Linked DNA regions of Homo sapiens: regions 1, 2, 3, 5, 6 and 7 are each linked to region 4. Evidence: promoter capture Hi-C in 16 types of primary human blood cells and fetal thymus (Javierre and others, 2016). All regions are on one chromosome and are shown on one strand. The core of a region is centred on a gene start or on the middle of the fragment in contact, and the rest is flanking DNA. Distances in the headings are between cores, read along the strand shown.

What was found. Contacts are between HindIII fragments. The CHiCAGO score rates a contact against its expected background, and 5 or more counts as called.
Region 1: a contact is called between a fragment that was not itself captured here and the fragment with the promoter of RAD51B-AS1 in region 4, in 12 of 17 cell types (non-activated CD4 T cells, naive B cells, activated CD4 T cells and 9 more). The highest score is 15.2, in non-activated CD4 T cells.
Region 2: a contact is called between a fragment that was not itself captured here and the fragment with the promoter of RAD51B-AS1 in region 4, in 2 of 17 cell types (total B cells and naive B cells). The highest score is 7.3, in total B cells.
Region 3: a fragment that was not itself captured here is called in contact with the fragment with the promoter of RAD51B-AS1 in region 4 in 8 of 17 cell types (total B cells, activated CD4 T cells, M1 macrophages and 5 more); the score reaches 9.2 in total B cells.
Region 5: a fragment that was not itself captured here is called in contact with the fragment with the promoter of RAD51B-AS1 in region 4 in 10 of 17 cell types (naive B cells, activated CD4 T cells, non-activated CD4 T cells and 7 more); the score reaches 14.0 in naive B cells.
Region 6: a contact is called between a fragment that was not itself captured here and the fragment with the promoter of RAD51B-AS1 in region 4, in 1 of 17 cell types (non-activated CD4 T cells). The highest score is 5.2, in non-activated CD4 T cells.
Region 7: a contact is called between a fragment that was not itself captured here and the fragment with the promoter of RAD51B-AS1 in region 4, in 10 of 17 cell types (non-activated CD4 T cells, total B cells, activated CD4 T cells and 7 more). The highest score is 11.9, in non-activated CD4 T cells.

The regions. Positions count from the first base shown.
Region 1 is chr14:68,294,069-68,296,768 of GRCh38, reverse strand. All of the region lies in intron 8 of RAD51B (RAD51 paralog B), which reads right to left. Among named protein-coding and RNA genes, the nearest start is that of RAD51B-AS1, 390 kb to the left of the region's middle. RefSeq lists enhancers at 1,061-1,170, 1,123-1,417 and a silencer at 1,623-1,917. The HindIII fragment of the contact is 5,664 bases long and covers 1-2,700 here.
Region 2 is chr14:68,354,799-68,357,498 of GRCh38, reverse strand. The region is part of intron 8 of RAD51B (RAD51 paralog B); the gene reads right to left. Among named protein-coding and RNA genes, the nearest start is that of RAD51B-AS1, 330 kb to the left of the region's middle. The HindIII fragment of the contact is 3,314 bases long and covers 1-2,700 here.
Region 3 is chr14:68,210,995-68,213,694 of GRCh38, reverse strand. The region is part of intron 7 of RAD51B (RAD51 paralog B); the gene reads right to left. Among named protein-coding and RNA genes, the nearest start is that of RAD51B, 390 kb to the right of the region's middle. RefSeq lists an enhancer at 2,487-2,700. The HindIII fragment of the contact is 2,507 bases long and covers 165-2,671 here.
Region 4 is chr14:68,684,049-68,686,748 of GRCh38, reverse strand. RAD51B-AS1 (RAD51B antisense RNA 1) reads left to right here and starts at 1,309. Exons shown (of 4, transcript XR_007064220.1): 1 at 1,309-1,378. RefSeq lists enhancers at 972-1,021, 2,605-2,700. The HindIII fragment of the contact is 3,133 bases long and covers 63-2,700 here.
Region 5 is chr14:68,276,808-68,279,507 of GRCh38, reverse strand. The region is part of intron 7 of RAD51B (RAD51 paralog B); the gene reads right to left. Among named protein-coding and RNA genes, the nearest start is that of RAD51B-AS1, 410 kb to the left of the region's middle. RefSeq lists a silencer at 242-536. The HindIII fragment of the contact is 2,269 bases long and covers 257-2,525 here.
Region 6 is chr14:68,338,440-68,341,139 of GRCh38, reverse strand. All of the region lies in intron 8 of RAD51B (RAD51 paralog B), which reads right to left. It also overlaps the pseudogene RPL7AP5. Among named protein-coding and RNA genes, the nearest start is that of RAD51B-AS1, 350 kb to the left of the region's middle. The HindIII fragment of the contact is 8,350 bases long and covers 1-2,700 here.
Region 7 is chr14:68,259,109-68,261,808 of GRCh38, reverse strand. All of the region lies in intron 7 of RAD51B (RAD51 paralog B), which reads right to left. Among named protein-coding and RNA genes, the nearest start is that of RAD51B-AS1, 420 kb to the left of the region's middle. The HindIII fragment of the contact is 517 bases long and covers 1,043-1,559 here.

The DNA of each region.
Region 1 (2,700 bases), core at 179-2,678, 390 kb after region 4:
CATGTGGAACTCCTGAAGTGGGCCATGTCACCATAATGAAGTAACTGCTACTCTGTTAAATCGTCAGAAGAAAGCAAGCCAATGGTCTATAGCTTCAATCTTGCACAGGGCTCACTGTTACCATTTGTCAAATCTCACCTACCAACTGTAGGTGGGCACTCATCTGGTTCTGCTCAAATCCCAGGTGACTTTGGAATAGGATATGGCATCTTAGGCCATTTGGACTGTTAGATCCCTTCTCTATTAATCACTCTGGGGGAAAGAGATGTTACCTATGACTGAGGTCCAACAGTTCTTAGTATCTCCAATGACCATAAGGAAGAATTGGCAAGGGCTAAGAAATGTGTCCTTGGCCACACAACAGTCACAATAACTGAGCAGGGAACTCTATAATAACCTATATGTCTGAACTTCTGTCAATGAAATGAAATCTGAAGAAGAAAATACTGTGACTCAAAGTACCTAGTCTAGAACAATGTAGAAAAAATCCTTATTTCTGTCCCTATCTCTTCTGTTGAATGACAGAGTGGATACTAGAAGATTGCTACAGTCTTTTCCAGCTCTAACAGTTAAGATCATAAGGAGGGCCTGAAGATCAGAAACATTCACCCAATGATAGGGTTTAATTCTGATTTACAGAGTGGGAAAAATGACTGTGTTGTTGATGTTGCCCTAAACACAACAAAAAGGACCTTCAGAAATCTTAGCATTGGTACTCTGGCATACCTGCAACAGTCTCCCCTTCCTGTATTGCTGTCTCTTTCTCACTCTGTGTACACTTCAGATCTTGTCTCTTGCTCTCTCTGCCTGTCTCCACACAAAGGTATACAAAATCAGAAGTGTGTGCAAACCAGTGAGTATGAGACACACACTGGGATTTGGGGGCGGGGGGCAAGGTCTACCCTGTCCTGTAATAGATTTCAGCTGCAGTGCACAGTACACTGCTTAAACAGTGCTCCCTTGAAAACAGTTGTGAGGTGAGAACAAGCAGCCAAGAGCAGCCAGCGATAAAATGATCTGAGTTGACCTAAGAGGAGTAGTACGCAGCAGGGGCTGACTCAGGGAAATGAAGTCCCTTCTGCTCTGATGCAGAGGAGGGAATACAAGTGACCTGGCCCAACCGAGAGATCTCTTCCACCCCAACAGATCCTGTACTATTAATATCTGCCAGCTGCAGGCCCAGAGCATCCCCCTGCTGAGATCAAAAGAGCTCCTATCTTAGCTGGAACAAGGTCATCTGCACAGGGCTGTAAAAAGCGAGCCCTGGCTGGCTGCAGGGACGTCTATGGGGGAGGAGAAGTCAGGAGATGGGAGGTGCTCTCTCACGCTCCTTTAATCTCGGCTGACCAGCTGTTGCCCTCCCAGTGTTTGTAAAGTTGAGAGTTCTTTGTTTTTGTGTTGCTGGGTCTCCCCGCCCCACCACCCTTATTAAATTTGTGGCTGAGTTGTTGGCTTGGATTAAGTAGACTCATGTTCACTGCTTGACATCATGGTATAATTCCCTTCATTGAGGTTTCATTCCACTGTTGAGTTATCCAGCTCCCAGGTGGGAGAGCCAAAGAAGGGAGAAGTACACCCCAAGGGCCAAGGACTTTCCCGGCATTGCTCCTGCCCCTGAGCTTTGTGCCTTGAGAAGGAATGAGAGGGCAAACTGAATTTTCTCTATTTACTTAAAATATCTCCTCATATTTGCAGTGTGCTTGTCAATTTGCAGCCTGCCTTTCACAAACTATCCCATTCACAAACTATTGGGAGAATGGAACTTTTGGAACTTATGCAAATTGACCAGTCACCCCATCCCAGTGTGTTTCTCATTCTCACTGGTTTGCACACACTTCTGATTTTGTACACCTTTGTGTGGAGAGAGGCAGAGAGAGCAAGAGACAGACAGACAAGACCAGAAGTGTCCCCAGAGTGACAAAGAGAAAACATACAGGGAGGAAAGGCTCCTGCAGGTATGCCGAAGTATCAGTGCTAAGATTTATTAAAGATCCTTTTTATTGTGTTTAATCTAGGGCAACATCAGCAACACGGCCATTCTTCCTACTCTGTAAGTCAGAATTAAAACCCCATCAGTGGGTGAATGCTCCTGACCTTCAGACCTACCTCATGATCTTATATGCTAGAGCTGGAAAACACTTTAGCAATCTTGTATTCTTCCAACCTGTCATGTAACAGAAGAAACTGAGACCCAAAGTCATCAAAAGGGCCTGCCTAACACCACAGTTAATAACACAATGGCAAAGCTGATACAATGAATGCTTGAAGCAAAACAGAGCAATTTATACATGCGTGTGCATGTCTGTGTGTGTGTAAATCACAGGAACTTAACATCCATTGTAATATATTTGAATGGCTATAAATGTTCTAAGACATTGTTCATTTTAATCCACTAATAAAAACCTTCATTATAGACTATAGGAATATATTTATATAGCCTCTTTATCTGCTCAGCTATACAAAAAAAAAATCTAGAAAAATCAATTATTTCCATTCTTTGTTGGATTTCTGGGAGGATAACCTGGTAACTCTTCCTTTGCTATGAACACAAGTCAGGGGTTTCTTGTGGCAGTTATACTGCAACCCTGAAGCAATTTCTTTTCTATGTGTTTTGCTCTTCTTCTTTGCTTAAGATAAACCAGGAAGGCAACACAAATAAAAGTACTTACTGATTTTCAAATAAGGAAGCAGTTTACTCTA
Region 2 (2,700 bases), core at 27-2,526, 330 kb after region 4:
GCATTCTAGATGCCATTCAGAAGATTCGTGATTCATAGGAGGAGGTCAAAATACCATCCTTAATAGGAGCTTGGAATAAGATTCTAACCTTCATGAATGACTTTGAGGGGTTCAAGACTTCATTGGAAGAAGTTACTGCAGATGTGGCGGAAATAGCAAGAGAATTAGAATTAGAAATGGAGCCCGAATATGTGACTGAATTGCTGCAATCTCATGACAAAACATGATGAGGAGTTGCTTCTTTTGGATAAGCAAAGAAAGTGGTCTCTTGAGATGGAATCTACTGGTGAGGATGCTATGAACAATGTTGAAATGACAACAAGGGATTTAGAATATCACAGAAACTTAGTTGACAAAGCAGTGGCAGGGTTTGAAAGGATTGACTCCAATTTTGAAAGAAGTTCTACCGTGGATAAAATGTTATCAAACAGCATGACATGCTACAGAGCAATCTTTCATAAGAGTCAATCCATAAGGCAAACTTCATTATTGTCATTTTTTTTTTTTTTTTTTTTTGAGACGGAGTCTCGCTCTGTCGCCCAGGCTGGAGTGCAGTGGCGGGATCTCGGCTCACTGCAAGCTCCGCCTCCCGGGTTCATGCCATTCTCCTGCCTCAGCCTCCCAAGTAGCTGGGACTACAGGCGCCCGCCACCGCGCCCGGCTAATTTTTTTTGTATTTTTAGTAGAGACGGGGTTTCACCGTTTTAGCCGGGATGGTCTCGATCTCCTGACCTCGTGATCCGCCCGCCTCGGCCTCCCAAAGTGCTGGGATTACAGGCGTGAGCCACCGCGCCCGGCCTATTGTCATTTTTTAAGAAATTGCTACAGCCACTCCAACCTTCAGCAACCACCCCCTGAACAGTCAGCAACCTTCAACACTAAGGCAAGACCCTTCACCAGCAAGATTATAACTCACTGAAGGCTCCGATGATCCCTAGCATTTTTTTTTTTAGCAATTAAGTATTTTAAATTTAGGTAATCTATATTGTTTTTAAAAAATATAATACTATTGCACTTTTAATAGAGTAGAGTGTAAACATAACTTTTTTTTTTTTTTTTTTTTTGAGACGGAGTCTCGCTCTGTCGCCCAGGTTGGGGTGCAGTGACACAACCTCGGCTCACTGCAAGCTCCGCCTCCTGGGTTCACGCCATTCTCCCGCCTCAGCCTCCGGAGTAGCTGGGACCACAGGCGCCCGCCACTGCACCCGGCTAATTTTTTTGTATTTATTTAGTAGAGACGGGGTTTCACCCTGTTAGCCAGGATAGTCTCGATCTCCTGACCTTGTGATCCGCCCACCTCGGCCTCCCAAAGTGCTGGGATTACAGGCGTGAGCCACCGCGCCCGGCCAACATAACTTTTATATGCACTGGGAAACCAAAAAATGTATTTCACTTTATTGCAATATTTACTTTATTGCAATGGTCTGGAACCATGTCTACAATATCCTCAAGATATGGCTATATAACCTGGGAGATAATTAGACAAATTTGGAAATCTGGATGTAAAAGAATGTTTACTGCAATTTTTAAATGATAGTAAGCAATATAAAAAAACCTAAATGAATAATAATTGGGAAATGCATAAATGGATAATAGCACAGCTGTTTAATGGAATATTATATACTGTCACTATAATTAATGGTGTCATTATTTATGGACATAGAGTTGTCCACAATGAGAAAGTACACTCTTGTTTTCTAACAATGGCACATGGAAGTATAATATGCACATTCTGAGAGTGATCTGGAGAGTTGCTCACCAAAATGTTATTTCTCTCAGCAGTAGGATTTAAATTGACTTTTCCATTTTTCCTTTGTACTTTTAGTCATTTTAAAACTAGAAAACAATAATAACAATAATTCTATTTTCACTTTGGTAGAAAAAAAAACCCAAACCACTGAACCAATCTCCAGCTGTGACCAGCAAGTCTCATGAATTTTATTCAGTCCGGTTCCAGGGAGGTATTTACCAGAATGACAACCATGGCCAACTGATATTAGAAAGAGTTTATTAATATCAGGAATAGATGGGCGAGATTAAATTGGAGAATCTAATAGACCCAAAACCCCAGTTCCACTTTACTTTCTGTTGTTTCCAAAATCAGAATGAAGCCAGTAACAAAATGAGGAGCTAAACGTTTTAGGCAAATCTTTTTGCATTCCAGGTAACATTAAGGTGAATTCTAAAATGCTCAATCTATTTTGAGGATATTGGAGCTAACCTACCACTCAATAAAATTTGTATTAATGTTTTCTTTATGAAACTCAAAGAGTTAACAAACAAATATGTCTCCAAAAAATAGGCAACATAAGAAATGGGACATAAAAAATACATCTGTACTAGTCCCACCAAAGCAAGAGTGCCATCTCTACAGTATGGGAGCTCCCATTGGGCGGCTGCCTATATCCCTCCAGTGACAAGATGGGGTTCTTTTTACTGTGCATCACGGTCCCCTCTACAGCCAGAGAGCTTACTCACTAGAGTTCTTCCTAAAAAGCCTGAAGGTACTCGGATAGTACCCTAATACTGGGATTATCTTCTCATTTCACAGAAAGGGAAATCGAGTCACAATGAGGCCAAGAGGCTTAAACTTGGCATTTCAGACCTCAGAGCTTGAAATGGGGCTCCCACGTCAAAATTCTGTCCTGAGTCCACTACTTCTTTTTGCTACTTGAATCATGAGCAAGCCGAGAGGCTAGC
Region 3 (2,700 bases), core at 169-2,668, 470 kb after region 4:
AGAACTACTGCCACCATGATCCATGATGCTATATTCTAATAATGCACCCTCCTATTAGTTGTTCTTTTTTAAAAGTAGGTATACGTTAGTATTGAATCACATTGAGTTTCCCACCAACTAATGTCCCTAAATCTTTTCCTTATTACTTGCTATCAACCTAAGCTTCCTCCTTCAAGACTTAACATACTATTTTGTTAACCTTAGCTTAGGACTTTACATTAATCTGTGTAAAATTCTGACTCACTGGTTCTAGTAGCATAATACAGTTATGAGCATGGGCTTTGGTGATAGACAAATGGTCCTCTGCCATCTGTGCCTCTTATTGGCTGTGGGACTTGGGTAAATGACTTAGCATATCTGTGCCTCTACATCTATCTATAGAATGGAATATTACTAGTATACACCTCAGAGGGTCACTGTGAGGATTAAATGAGAGAAGTCATACAACACATTTAGCATTTTGCCTGGCACACAGTAAGTACTCAATAAATGCTACATATGGTTGTTATTAGCAAATCCGCCCATCAACCTACACAGATCTTTAAAAAATCCTATCTCACTTGTTGCAAAAGCACATTATTTGTGCTTTCGTCAGAAATTTTTAATGAGAAAATTGGATAGAACAGCATCACTAGACAGGTTCCTGAGGCTTACCCTGAGGACCCCTCTCCAGATGGACATTAGTCCATCCATCAGGTCAAAACTGCCAGTGGACATTTGTTCAACCAGCTATGAATCTACTTAACCTCAACAAGACAACAAGAGTATCATAAAAATCTTAGCCAAACTCCTCCCAGAAATAAAAATCTATCCCTTGACATTTCCATAACCAATAAGATGAACTGTGAAAGACTTTAAGGATGTTAGAAATAGGAATGTTTTGTTTTCAATGAGCTCATATTGACTCCTAATAATCACATTTTTCTCACACGTAATCATTCAGTAATCCACTCTAAAAATTTGCTGAAGATCAATGTCCTGTGCATTCTGGAACATGTCTTCTTCTTCACTCCATTTCTTCAAAATTAGGATAGTGTCCAGTGCCATTTTCCATTACTATGACACCAAACCCTATTGCTATCATTTCTCATAAATGATGTGATTACACTGGCAAATTCTGTCACTACCCAGTGCTGTGGTTCCAATGGAAAGTCCCCAGTAGTGAGTTAGGAGGGTTCTAAACCAGTCCAAATTGTTCAGCAAACTGCTGACCACCCAAAGGACACACATGGTGGTATTTACCTTGCTGCTGGTGCTGCTGTTGTTGCTGCTGCTAACAGCTCTATGTAAGGCTCTGAGTCAAGTATTTTACATGGATTGTCTAATTTAATTCTCAAAACAGCCCTCTGAGGTCAGTGTAAAGATAATATCCTTTTTAGAGCGGGGTCTTAGGTCATACAGCATGTAAGTGGCTGACCTAGTATTCAAACCCAGTTCAATCAGATTCTAGAGCCAAACTTCCAACCAAGTGCCATATTATCTCCCTTTTTTACTAAATGGCACTATTTCATTGTATGAACTGTACAGCTTGGGTCCAGTCCCAGCCTTGCAGGCACAGAAATTTGACCTTGTCAGTATCCCAGAGTTGAATAGACTTAGGCATGATGCCTTCCCCTGACGAAGTTCACAACAAACTGGTGGAGCAAACGAGAATGCCAATGTGTTGATTTACAACAGTTATGTATCTGTCATACAGACCATAACAATCTGACCAGAGCATTTTTCCCTTTAGAGGGTTCTACTTACAGAGGCAAACTGTAAACACAAGACATCATAATAGGAGGCATTTGCTATAGAACTTGAATGTTAAATTGAATTTCCAACAAAGAAGGACTTGCCAGTGACACTGAAACTTTGAAGACTACCAACATTCACATTTCTATGGACAGTTACTGTGGGTACAGGGCACAACCAGTGTTTGCCTCTGGGTGCTTCTGATGTCGACCAACCCCCTTTCTGACACACTGGTGCATTACTTACGTCTAGGCCAGTCTTTGGCCTAGAGACAATGACTTTCCTTAGGTGACTTTCCACAACTATGCTCTGATATCTGATGGTTTTATATATTAATTTATTTCCCAACCAAGTTGTTGAGTAACCTTCCCCACCATATCTAGTCTACAATCTATAATATAATTCACTCTGGCCTAAGGCCTTTAATTCATTTAAGAAAGCTAGGAGCTCTCCTACTTTCTTATGTTTTATTTTTCTTTTTTCCCCCTTAAAGCCATGTATACCATATTCAGTTGGCAACACAAAAGAGGTGCTACAATAGTGAAGGTGGTACAAAAACAGGACCTGAGATGTTCTTTTCATTCTTCTATCTTCTCCAAACATTGGTTTCAATGGGGAAAGCGGGTGGAGGGAGGGCAATGTGATTAGAGAGATTCTTGCAGGCAGGGAGCAAGGCCCTTGAACTAAAAGTGGAAGTAGCCTTATATTCAGATAAATCAGTCACTAGGCACTGGGTGGGGAGGGGAAAGGGTCACAAAGAATGTTCTGAGCTAGGCCACTTAATGATTTTAGACATGCCTACCTAGGAAATGCACCATGTGGCAATGCTCTTGTTCTGACCACAGCACATTAGTCAGAGAAACATCCTCAGAGAGAAGATCAAGGAAGACAAGGCACATGTTTGAGTGTGGGAACACAACTGACACTAAGTGAAGCTTGACAACCTGAAAATGAAAGTGACTGGAA
Region 4 (2,700 bases), core at 60-2,559:
ATGGGCACAGAGTTTCAGTTTGGAAAGATGAAAAAGTTCTGGAGAGAGATGACGGGGAAGCTTATACAACGATGTGAATGTACTTAATGCCACTGAATTGTACACTTAAACATGGGTAAAATGGTAGCTTTTACGTTAGGTATATTTTACCAGGATAAAAAGTTTTTTGTGTTTGAAAATATACCCTCTAATAGACTCAGAGTTGCTGACAGGCCCTCTCCATGGGTTGATGTAACCGTCTCCTTACCTCAAGACGAGGTTGACCCATCCAAGATTGGAGGGAACTTATCCTATTTTCAGATTATTTCCAGGGAAGGGAGCCCATGACATTATTAGGCAATCTTTTCCAGTGTCTCAAAACCCCAGACATTCTGGGTACCAGACCTTTCCTGCTGCACCTGAAGTTGATTTTCCTTGGTCAGTAAGTGCTTTGTCAGGCCACAGACTTTTCATGCACTCAAAGGCTCTAGTTACACCATCCCTAGCGTAGATCTGATGGTGCCAAGTAACAAGCCAGCAAGTGGACTTTGGAGGCCCAGCAAGCCTCCCTGTCTCACAGGCTTCTCATCAGTATAATGGATAAACAGTGCGAGGCTTGGATTCCTAAGCAGTCCTGGGACACAGGCCCCGCCAGGCCCTGGCAGGTGAAGAGCCTACCATTTCTCACTTCATTTAGGATGTATAATAGTTTGTTGGACGCTAGAACTGTACCCTTTCAGATCTGTGTCTTTACTTTTCAGCTGGAGGCCTCTTGCTGACAGGGTAGCGTTTCCCAAAGACACGGGAGCTGAGCTGGTGAGTCATTTCAACAGCCCTTACACTCTCCTCTGACCAGAGACCACATGACATATTAATCAGCTGCTTGAAAGGTATACCTGGCAGGCATGTTTCCTGCAGCCTGGAAGATGCTGACCTCGTCAGCTTTGAAACATCAAAGGGCTAACAAGAGAACAACAGGCTGAGAAAGACCTCATCACCTGGGTGCCTGTTGACCGCAGCCTTGTAAGGCCCAACACAGCTGAGATGTGCTGTCTGGAGCTCGGAGGAAGTGGAGCTTTTTCTGCTGTGAGGACCCGCCTTCAGCCCCCTTTTGGGGCACAGGAAGGGGAGGGAGTGAGCCTAAATTGTGGCCCCATGCTTAGTGACTCAGATGTTACTGCTACCACAAAGGGAAATTCATGTGGGGGTGGACATCTCCAGAGACCTCACTCACCTGTGATTTGGGGGATAATAGCATCACTCATGTGTTCACGTGCCAGGCCTGTCACCCCGGAACATTAGTCAAAGGGCTGTGTTGACAGTGATTTCAACTCTTGAATTATACGAAGGACCTGGCCGCAAGAAGGCATTGAGCCCCGAGGAGGACAACAGGCCTCAGGTACTTCATGTGATTAAAGCTGAGACAAGGGGAGTCCCATGGGTCAGTCCTGTAACTGGGGTCTGATATACACTAGTGATAGGCATTAGCATAGTTTGCACATTATATGATAGTCTTGGTCCTTTTCATTTCCTGATAAGCTGGAATGTCTGACAGAGTAAATTCCAGATGCCCTTGTGGAATTCTCATTACGATCATGTTGCTAAGGAACTGTCTTCTACCTGTATGCAATTTGGAAATACTATTAATAGTATTAACATGGAGTTTTGCAGTGTGTGGGTTTATTTCTTATTGTATTTATAATCACCCCCACCACTACCTTCCCACCGCTGGCTCACCATCTGAGGAGCTGGCATCAGGAAACTCAAGAAAGAAGGAAGGAAGGAAGGAAGGAAGGAAGGAAGGAAGGAAAGAAGGAAGGAAGGAAGGGAAAGGTTGTCCAGGCTTCACAGGAAGAACTGCATTTGTATTATTCTGTATTGAATTCTCAGGACCTCCACATTGCAGGCATCTAGAGGCTCCAATTAATAGTTGATAAATCTTGAAGGGAGGAAAAAATAGTCACAGAAAGTTCACTTGAGTGACCTGAAATTCTATAGCAATTTAGCCAGGGAGCCGGGAGGAGAATATGCCCTTCCAACTTGCAGGCCAGCTCTCTGCAGGAAGCCAGGCAGCTCTCCCAGGGGAAGCAGTGGCCAGGGCAAGCATGGGTCTTGAAGCTCAGGACTGGCTTTAGGACTCTGGCTCAGACAAGATGGGTGGCTCAAAGGTATTGAAGGGCTAGGTAGGGCCCTGAAAATTGGGCCTTTCTGCAGCAATCATCAGGGAGACTAATGGTCCTGGGCTAGGGAAGGAGTCTTCTTGGCCCAGAATGGCCAAGCAGCCAAATATTAGAGCACCTCCAGGGAGGTGTCCCTGGAAAGGGTCCTCCCCCAGTCAGCTCCTGCGGAGTGCAGGCAGGTTTGGGGGTCTCTCCTCTAGGAGAGATCCAGGGAGCTTGAGAGCAAAAGTGACAATGTGCCTGCCTTCTTCCTTCTCTGTAGGGCTCTGTTCTCTTTCTTCTTTTTTGAGGCAGGATCTTTTGCTTTATTGTCCAGGTTGGAGTGCAGTGGCATGATCACGGCTCACTGCAGCCTCAGCCTCCTGGGCTCAAGCAATCCTCCCACCTCAGCTTCCTGAGTAGCTGAGACCATGCCTGGCTAATTTTTAAGTTTTTTTGTAGAGACGAGGTCTCATTGTGTTGCCCAGGCTGGTCTTGAACTCCTGGGCTCAAGCAATTCTCCCACCTCAGCCTCCCAAAGCACTGGGATTATAGGCGTGAG
Region 5 (2,700 bases), core at 142-2,641, 410 kb after region 4:
TAACGACTGGTAACTGAGGAGGGTTTATGGCTGTTCCTGCAGTCCTTCAAGGTATACCATGATCCCTTTGAAAAAAGGGACACAGAAGCTGGAAACACTGACTACCAATCCTACATACCTAAAGTCCCACTGAATTCAGAATCCTGGAGTTCTGAGCAAATCTCATGGAAGCCGTCCTGCCTTCATCAAGGCCTGGAAAGGCATCACTGCCGAGAACAGATGCCCACATGCTTTGGAATGAGAGGACAAGCAAGCTTTTTTCTGTCTGGTTATTGACAACACGGTGTTCCTTCTCATGGACTCCTCCTGCCCTCCCTAGCACCACACTGAAATGACTAAATCTGCCTGTTGGCTCCAGTGAATCCAGTCAAATAAGTCAATTCTCTTTAAGTTTGTGGTCTCAACTCCTTGTTGGTTTATTGCAAAATTAAAGGGCATACAGAGTAGAACCATCAATCAGTAACCAGCAGAGGAATAAGCTCTTTGTGGAATGTACTGAGAAGCAGGAAAGAAGAAAAAATGAAAAGAAACCTCATGAAATGGTCATTTGTTAGGAGAACAGAAAAAAAAAAATCTGCATTTCACATGCAACATCATTTAGGAAAAGTCTTATTAAAGGTTTCCTATCTCACCAGGAGAGCAAGCACAGGAACGCAAAGAAAAATCCCTCAAAATGACCTGCCATCTATTAGTGCTGGTTTCTTGTGGGTTTTGCTGTATTCCATAGACACAGCCTGAGATCATGTGGCCCAAGGGCTGGAACAGTGACTCAGCAGGCTCAGGACCAGGGAAAGGAGATGAGAAGCCACTGTTGTTTATTACAAAACAAAACAAACAAACAAACAAATGTAACTGGCTCTTTCAGCCCTCTACCGCATGCTGACCTTCCCTTAGCACCCCTTTATTTAAAGTACCCAGTGCCATGTCTTACTTGGAATTTTTAACAAATGCAATTTGATCAGGGTGAAAACTGAAGAGCACTACATAGTCTAGACAAAGAAAACTAACATTTACTGGGTACCCAGTGAGTATCAAACACCATGTTCAGTGCCTTAGTTACAGACCTCCTTTCATCCTCATCGTAACACCATGAGGTAGGTGACATTATTCCTCTTTTAAGGATAAAGATATTAAGTGACTTGCCTGGCTTGCAGCAAGCAGCAACATCAATGTGACTACAAAATCCCTTCTTTCAAATAGATTCACCATTTCAAGCATGGCACCAGGAAAACTACTATGTGGCATTCTAAATCCTTCTGGAAGAAATGAAATTGGTAGTACTGGAAATAGTATAAGGGTAACTCACCAGCTGTGTCTACCTTGTACATTTTTTTCTCTAGATAAATTTCTTCTCTAGGGCAACTAGTATTGCCTATTTCATAGGAGAGAAAAGCAAGATGCCAAGAAGTGTAGGAAATTTCTGGCACTGGTAGGCAAAAGAGCCAATAGAACACAGCACGCCTCTGGCTGGTCGCAGTGGCTCACGCCTGTAATCCCAACATTTTGGGAGGCCAAGACGGGCAGATCATTTTAGTCCAGGAGTTCAAGACCAGCCTGGCCAACATGGCAAAACCCTGTCTCTACCAAAAATACAAAAATTAGCCAGGCATGGTGGCACGCGCCTATAGTCCCAGCTATTTGGTAGGCTGAGGCACATGAGAGAATTGCTTGAACCTGGGAGACGGAGGTTGCAGTGAGCCAAGATTATGCCACTACACTCCAGCCTGGATGACAAAGCGAGACTCTGTCTCAAAAACAAACAAAAAAAACCCCCAGAACATACCTCTGATTCTCACCTGTGGCAAGATGTAGCCTTTGAAATACTATGGTAATAGATAAGAATTATTTACATTGCTTTAAAATAATGAACGGGCCATATATATAATATACACATTTATATGAATATAAAATTTCATCTGAACATCTTTATCAACATCAATAAGGTATATATTATATCTCTTTCCGTATCAGAGAGAAAAAGTGACTTGCCTAAAGTTTACAGCATATAAATGGGCCTAAACCCAAGTCTGACTCCATATCTCATGGTCTTTACATTCCTTGATCCTGAAGGGGAGGGCACCTCCCAGAAAAAGAGGCAGACTGACGGTGAAAGAATAACCTCCATGAGAAAGCTAGGTCTTACTGGCTTTCTGAAATAAGGATGAGCTGCTTGTGAATTGTTATGTCCCGTGGAACTGGATCTTGGCTTCTCCTTTTTCTCTACACAGGTTTGACTATTAATAATAGCATTAGGACCTATGGCTGTCTCTGAGGGTTGTCGTCCATTACTAATGTGAGGCTCCTCGTAAGTGCTGGTTATGGTTTATGAGTAGTGGTCCCCTTCATTAATTCAGCCAAAGAGCTTCCAAGAGAGGACTATGGAAGTAAGAAGTGAGAGAAACCCATACCTGGGACTAAGGAGGTTCAGAGTGAGATTGCAAGGAGGTTAAAGAGTAAAGTTTATATTTAAGGCTTCCTTCCCTAACACTCACCATGTTCTCTCCGTCCTGAGTACTCCATAAGCTTTGTACACTCATCTTTTCAAGTGCAGCTAAAAGTGGGACCTGCTCCCCGACATCCTTTTCCCAGTAGCCAGTACTACCTCGGAGGGCTTTGAGGGCCCAAGACCCCATCCCTGTGCCATCCACCACTGCTCATAAATCTACACAGTCCTTTCTTCCCTACCCTCTTTCTGATGAA
Region 6 (2,700 bases), core at 167-2,666, 350 kb after region 4:
AGATTAAATTCATTTTCAGTTCTAATTTAGTCATTAACATTGTGCTTTGCCTTAACATTCTCTCTGCCCAGCTCATCTTAGTGGCATCTTCAAGGTAAAATCACCTTTGATATGTGAAAATTCTTGCTTCTCACCTTCCCTGAAGGGGAAAATATCAGCAAAATTATAATTTGAAATTGTAATGAACTCTATTTCCCTGCTTCTTAACCTATAAGGATGAAATGGGACAAGTGAAAACATCTAGAGATCTCTGAGTGCCAAAGGCAGACTGTTCTCCATTGCTTTCATATTTTACTTCCCTAACCAGATTTCAATGTCCTAGAGAGCCAAGCGTCATGGATGTCTTGGGATATCCCAAATATGCAAGATGGTATAGGAGCCTAGGGAAAACCTCCCCTTCAACCTCTGAGTGTTTACTGAAAATCAACTGACAAAAGGCAGGTTAATAGGAAAAAAGGCATACAAAAATAGTAATATGCACGCATGTGCACAGGAGTTATAAAAAATAAGAAAAACTCAAAGAAAGGGTCAGATAGTTGAAGTTTTCATCCTGAGGTTACAGAAGGAATAGAGGCTTAGAGTCTGGCAAGACCAGTTATGGGTGGAAGAGAAGAAAAGCATGGCTAGCAAAGGCAGTCTTGTAATGCAGATGAAACCTCACAGGTAGCAGCCCTCCAAAAGAGTAAGTTTCTATTAGATCCCCAGAGGTGTCAAACTCTCAGTCTCTCTCTCCCAGGAGCCCATCTGTCCTAGATCCAGACAAGTCACAGCACAGAAAGGCTGGCTGTTTATTTCAGCAATGTAGATTTTCTCTACAGATGTAAATCTCCCCCACAAAAGGTAGTTTTACAGGGCTATTCCTGTCTGCAGGTTCTCTGAATAGCCATCTCAAATATGTCAAAGAAGTATATTTGAGGGTGAAGTATTTTGGTTTCCTTTAATGGTAAAAAAAGGAAGAAGGAAAGATGTATTTACTTTCCTTGGTAACTCATTGTATCGGTCCAAAGACACCTTGAAGTTATTTCTGATAAATATTTCTAAGTAAACACTATTAGTAAAATACTATTGAATACTAACCATGTGCCAGGCACTATGTTACATTCCTCCTAAAAACATTTCTTCTTTTTTTAACCCTTGTGTAGACAAAGAAAAAGTAGCAGCCTTCTCTCTAAAAGATCATTATATGGTCACATCTCAGCACTGCCTATGATTAAACTACCTCAATTTCTTTAAACATTCTTTATTGTGATGATTAAAATTATATACATTGTAGAAAATGACTGTGCTATTAGATTGCTATCTTACTGTACTACTTTTCAACTTTTACTACTTAGGAGAGGCAGATTTCCCAATTCTCTAATTTTCTCAACATTTAGACTGATCCCTATTTATAAGAGGAAGAACTAGGCTTAGAGAGAGAACAGTACATTCAATGTTCATCTTAGTGGCATCTGTAACGTTAAATCACCCCTGATATATGAAAATTGTTGCTTTTCACCTTCTTTAAAGGCGAAAATATCATCAATAAAACTGAAATTAGAAACAAAGTTATTTGGTATAATGCTAGATGAAAAATATGGCAACCATAAGTCTCTCCTCCCGCCACCCAAGATGCTGAAAGGAAAGAAAGCCAAGGAGAAAAAATGGCTCCAGCTCCTGCTGTCATAAAGAAGCAGGAGGCCAAGGAAGTGGTGAATCCCCTGTTTGAGAAAAGGCTTAAGAATTTTGGCATTGGACAGGATATCCAGCCCCAAAGAGACCTCACCCGCTTTGTGAAATGGCCCCACTATATCAGGTTGCAGCGGCAGAGAGCCATCCTCTGTAAGTGGATGTAAGTGCCTCCTGCCATTAACCAGTTCACCCAGGCCCTGGACCACCAAACAGCTACTCAGCTGCTTAAGCTGGCCCACAAGTACAGGCCAGAGACAAAGCAAGAGAAGAAGCAGAGGCTGTTGGCCCAGGCCAAGAAGAAAGCTACCAGCAAAGGGGACATCCCCACTAAGAGACCACCTGTCCTTCGAGCAGGAGTTAACATGGTCACCACCTTGGTGGAGAACAAGAAAGCTCAGCTGGTGATGACTGCACACGATGTCGATCCCATCGAGCTGGCTGTCTTCTGCCTGCCTGCCCCATGTTGTAAAAAGGGGGTCCCTTACTGCATTATCAAGGGGAAGGCAAGACTGGGACATCTAGTCCACAGGAAGACCTGCACCACTGTTGTCTTCACAAAGGTTAACTCGGAAGACAAAGGAGCTTTGGCTAAGCTGGTGGAAGCTATCAGGACCAACTACGACAGATACGATGAGATCCACTGTCACTGGGGAGGCAATGTCCTGGGTCTCAAGTCTGTAGCTCACATTATCAAGCTCGAAAAGGCAAAGGTTAAAGAACTTTGCCACTGAACTGGGTTAAATGTACACTGTTGAGTTTTCTGTCCATAAAAATAATTAAAATAATACAAAATTTCCTTCAAAAAAGAAAAAAAATATGGCAAGCATAAAGATACACTTTGAGATAGCTAAATAGCCTCCAAACTTAACCTACACATGGGTGGGCCCTTGGCAGCCATGTTTAAGCCATGTTGTCTGGTTGGATTAAGGGCAGACATATCACCTGTGCCAGACTGATCAGATCCTCTCTCAGGAATTTAGATTCATTGATGCTAGTCTCCCTGGGCTGGGAAGTCGAACTAAGGACGTA
Region 7 (2,700 bases), core at 52-2,551, 420 kb after region 4:
TTACTGGTTTGGGGGCAAGGGGTGAATGTGAGTCCCAGTTCTGCTCACTTTGGGATAAGCAGGGATTTAAAAATACCTAATATAGAGGGTTACATCTTACGTGGGGATTGTATTCTAGAGTTGGCATGTAAGGCAAATTTTACGCGGTCAAAATTACCCTGGAAAATCCCTTAAACCTCCCAATACAAAATATATGGTTTTGTAGTTGCAACGCTGCACACTATATGGGTATATAGTAATATGAATAGCATATAATTAAAAGTACAAGTGCAAAATACAATTCTGCAGTATTTTTAATTATATACAAGAAAGAGAGAGTGCACAGTTGAACTTGAATACATTAAACGGGGTGCTGATGCTACTCTTCTGTATCTTTCACCTCAACTCCCACAGTCTTTTCGCACACTTCTAAATAGGCTTAAGGGCTCCATTTACATGAAAAGACAGACAGCTCCGGGAACCTTTGAGGCCTTCTCTTAAGATACACAATCACCACAAAAGGAAAAGGGAGAGCATTCTTTCACACAGATCTCTTTTCCTGTTTTTGCCTTGTGGCAGGAACAAAAGAAGATTTCTGAAAGAGAAAGCCGGTAAAAACTGCGGGCCAATAACTTCTACACTAGGCTGTGAAAGATGCCCAATTTCAAAATGCTTCCTTAAGCTGCAACATCCACAGCACACAGCCTTGAGGAGGTGCAAGGGTCTTCGTGACCAATTGCCCTAAAGTCTTTGAAGGATATGAGACCTTAAGAAAAAATTGATTCTATGAAATCATGCAGAATGAATTAAAAGGAGCATTCTAGCCCAAGTCTGAGATAAAACAAAGGTTAGATTAGGCATTTCAGAACTAATGGAAGATTAACAATTGTTGTGAATGTACTTAATGTACTTACTGTTTTTTAAGACCTTATTATCTAAGTATATCTTCAAATATGACATCAGGTAATTGTTTATGTTAGCTGTTGAATGTTCCTCTAAATGTGAGAAAATCAGCTTATAGCATGATAGAGTGCAGAAAATGCTACCCCCAAATATGGAAGCTTGGCGCACTGAGTATTAAGCTGAAGGAAGTTAAGAAAACTGCAGAAGCAAAAAGGTCTCTCTGACCTTCTCTCTTGAAGACCCTCATGAGACAGGTGTCTTGACTATACCCGGAGGGATGGAATGTTAAACACAGAGGCCAAGAAGAAACTAAACAAACAGGCTTTGCTAAGATCCCCCTAGTTTATCATCATTAGGTCATATCTGCTTTTTGTCCAACTATACTTCTACATGACTGTCCATGCTTCATCAAACCTAACCATAATAATACAGCTTTCCTTGGGTCTGGATCTTAATTTCTGAAGGCTCCTGCATCATGTAAAACTTTGGTTAAATAAATGTGCTATGCTTTTCTCTTGTTAATCTCCTTTGTTATAGAGGTGTCAGCCATGAAACTTGTGAGGTAATTACTCCCCTACTATCTCTACCCCCGCTGTCTTCCCCTCTCCACACACACACACACACACACGGTCTCTCAGCCACACTGGCCCTCTTTTTGTTCTGGGATACTCTAAGCTTACTCCTATCCCAGAGCCTTTGCACCAGATATTTCTTTCTATTTGAATATGTTTTCCTCACTTTTCCCAAGACCCATGGGGATGCTTCTCATGACTTAGGTCTCAGCTAATGCAAGTCCTCCTCATAGAGGCCTCCTCTGCTCACCCATTTTATAGCAGCCAGTCTCCACACCCCCCCATTATCACTTTCCTTAGTTTTATTTCCCTGGTCAAATATATCACCACTCGAAAATATCTTATATATTTGTTATTTTGTGTATTATCTGAATTCTTCCACTGGAATGAAAGCTCCTTGAGGACAGGACCTCTGTCTTTTTCACCACTTTCTCAATGCCCAACACATGCCTGGCCCGGAGTAGATGCCCAATAAATATATAATGAAGGAATAAATGACTCTCAGGCAAAACAGTGATATAGCCATAGCCATATCGCTGCTTGGTCCACAGTATCATGGTCAAGACACCATGCTTAACTGGTGCCTGCTACCTAAGCACTAGAAAAGGGGCTAGGGAGGGAAATAAAGTGCCATGAGCTCAACTTGCAGATCTGTGCTGACCCTTAATCTGCTATCTATCTTGCTTTGGGATCATACAAAATTATGGCCATTTATAACCACATGTGGCAGATTACCACTGGCTTTACACAGCTAACCTTGTCTAATTCTTCTTCAGTCTCTTAAAAAAAAGATAAATGCCATCTTGTTAAATTACACATGATAACCTAGCAAAAACTTCTGAGTACTCTATTTGTGCTCTGAGCTTTTATTTTTTTATGTTTATTTATTTTTATTTTATTATTATTATACTTTAAGTTTTAGGGTACATGTGCACAACGTGCAGGTTTGTTACATATGTATACATGTGCCATGTTGGTATGCTGCACCCATTAACTCCTCATTTAGCATTAGGTATATCTCCTAATGCTATCCCTCCCCCCTCCCCCTACCCCACAACAGTCCCCGGTGTGTGATGTTCCCCTTCCTGTGTCCTCACTCACAGGTGGGAATTGAACAATGAGAGCTTTTAAATCATCCTCCCTTGCTTTGCATTTCGTTCAAGAACAGGGGCCATGACAGGGCAGAGCTTTGTGGAAGCTGGCACTGGAGGCTGGACTTCAGCAGCAGGAATTTGCAGAGCCTCAA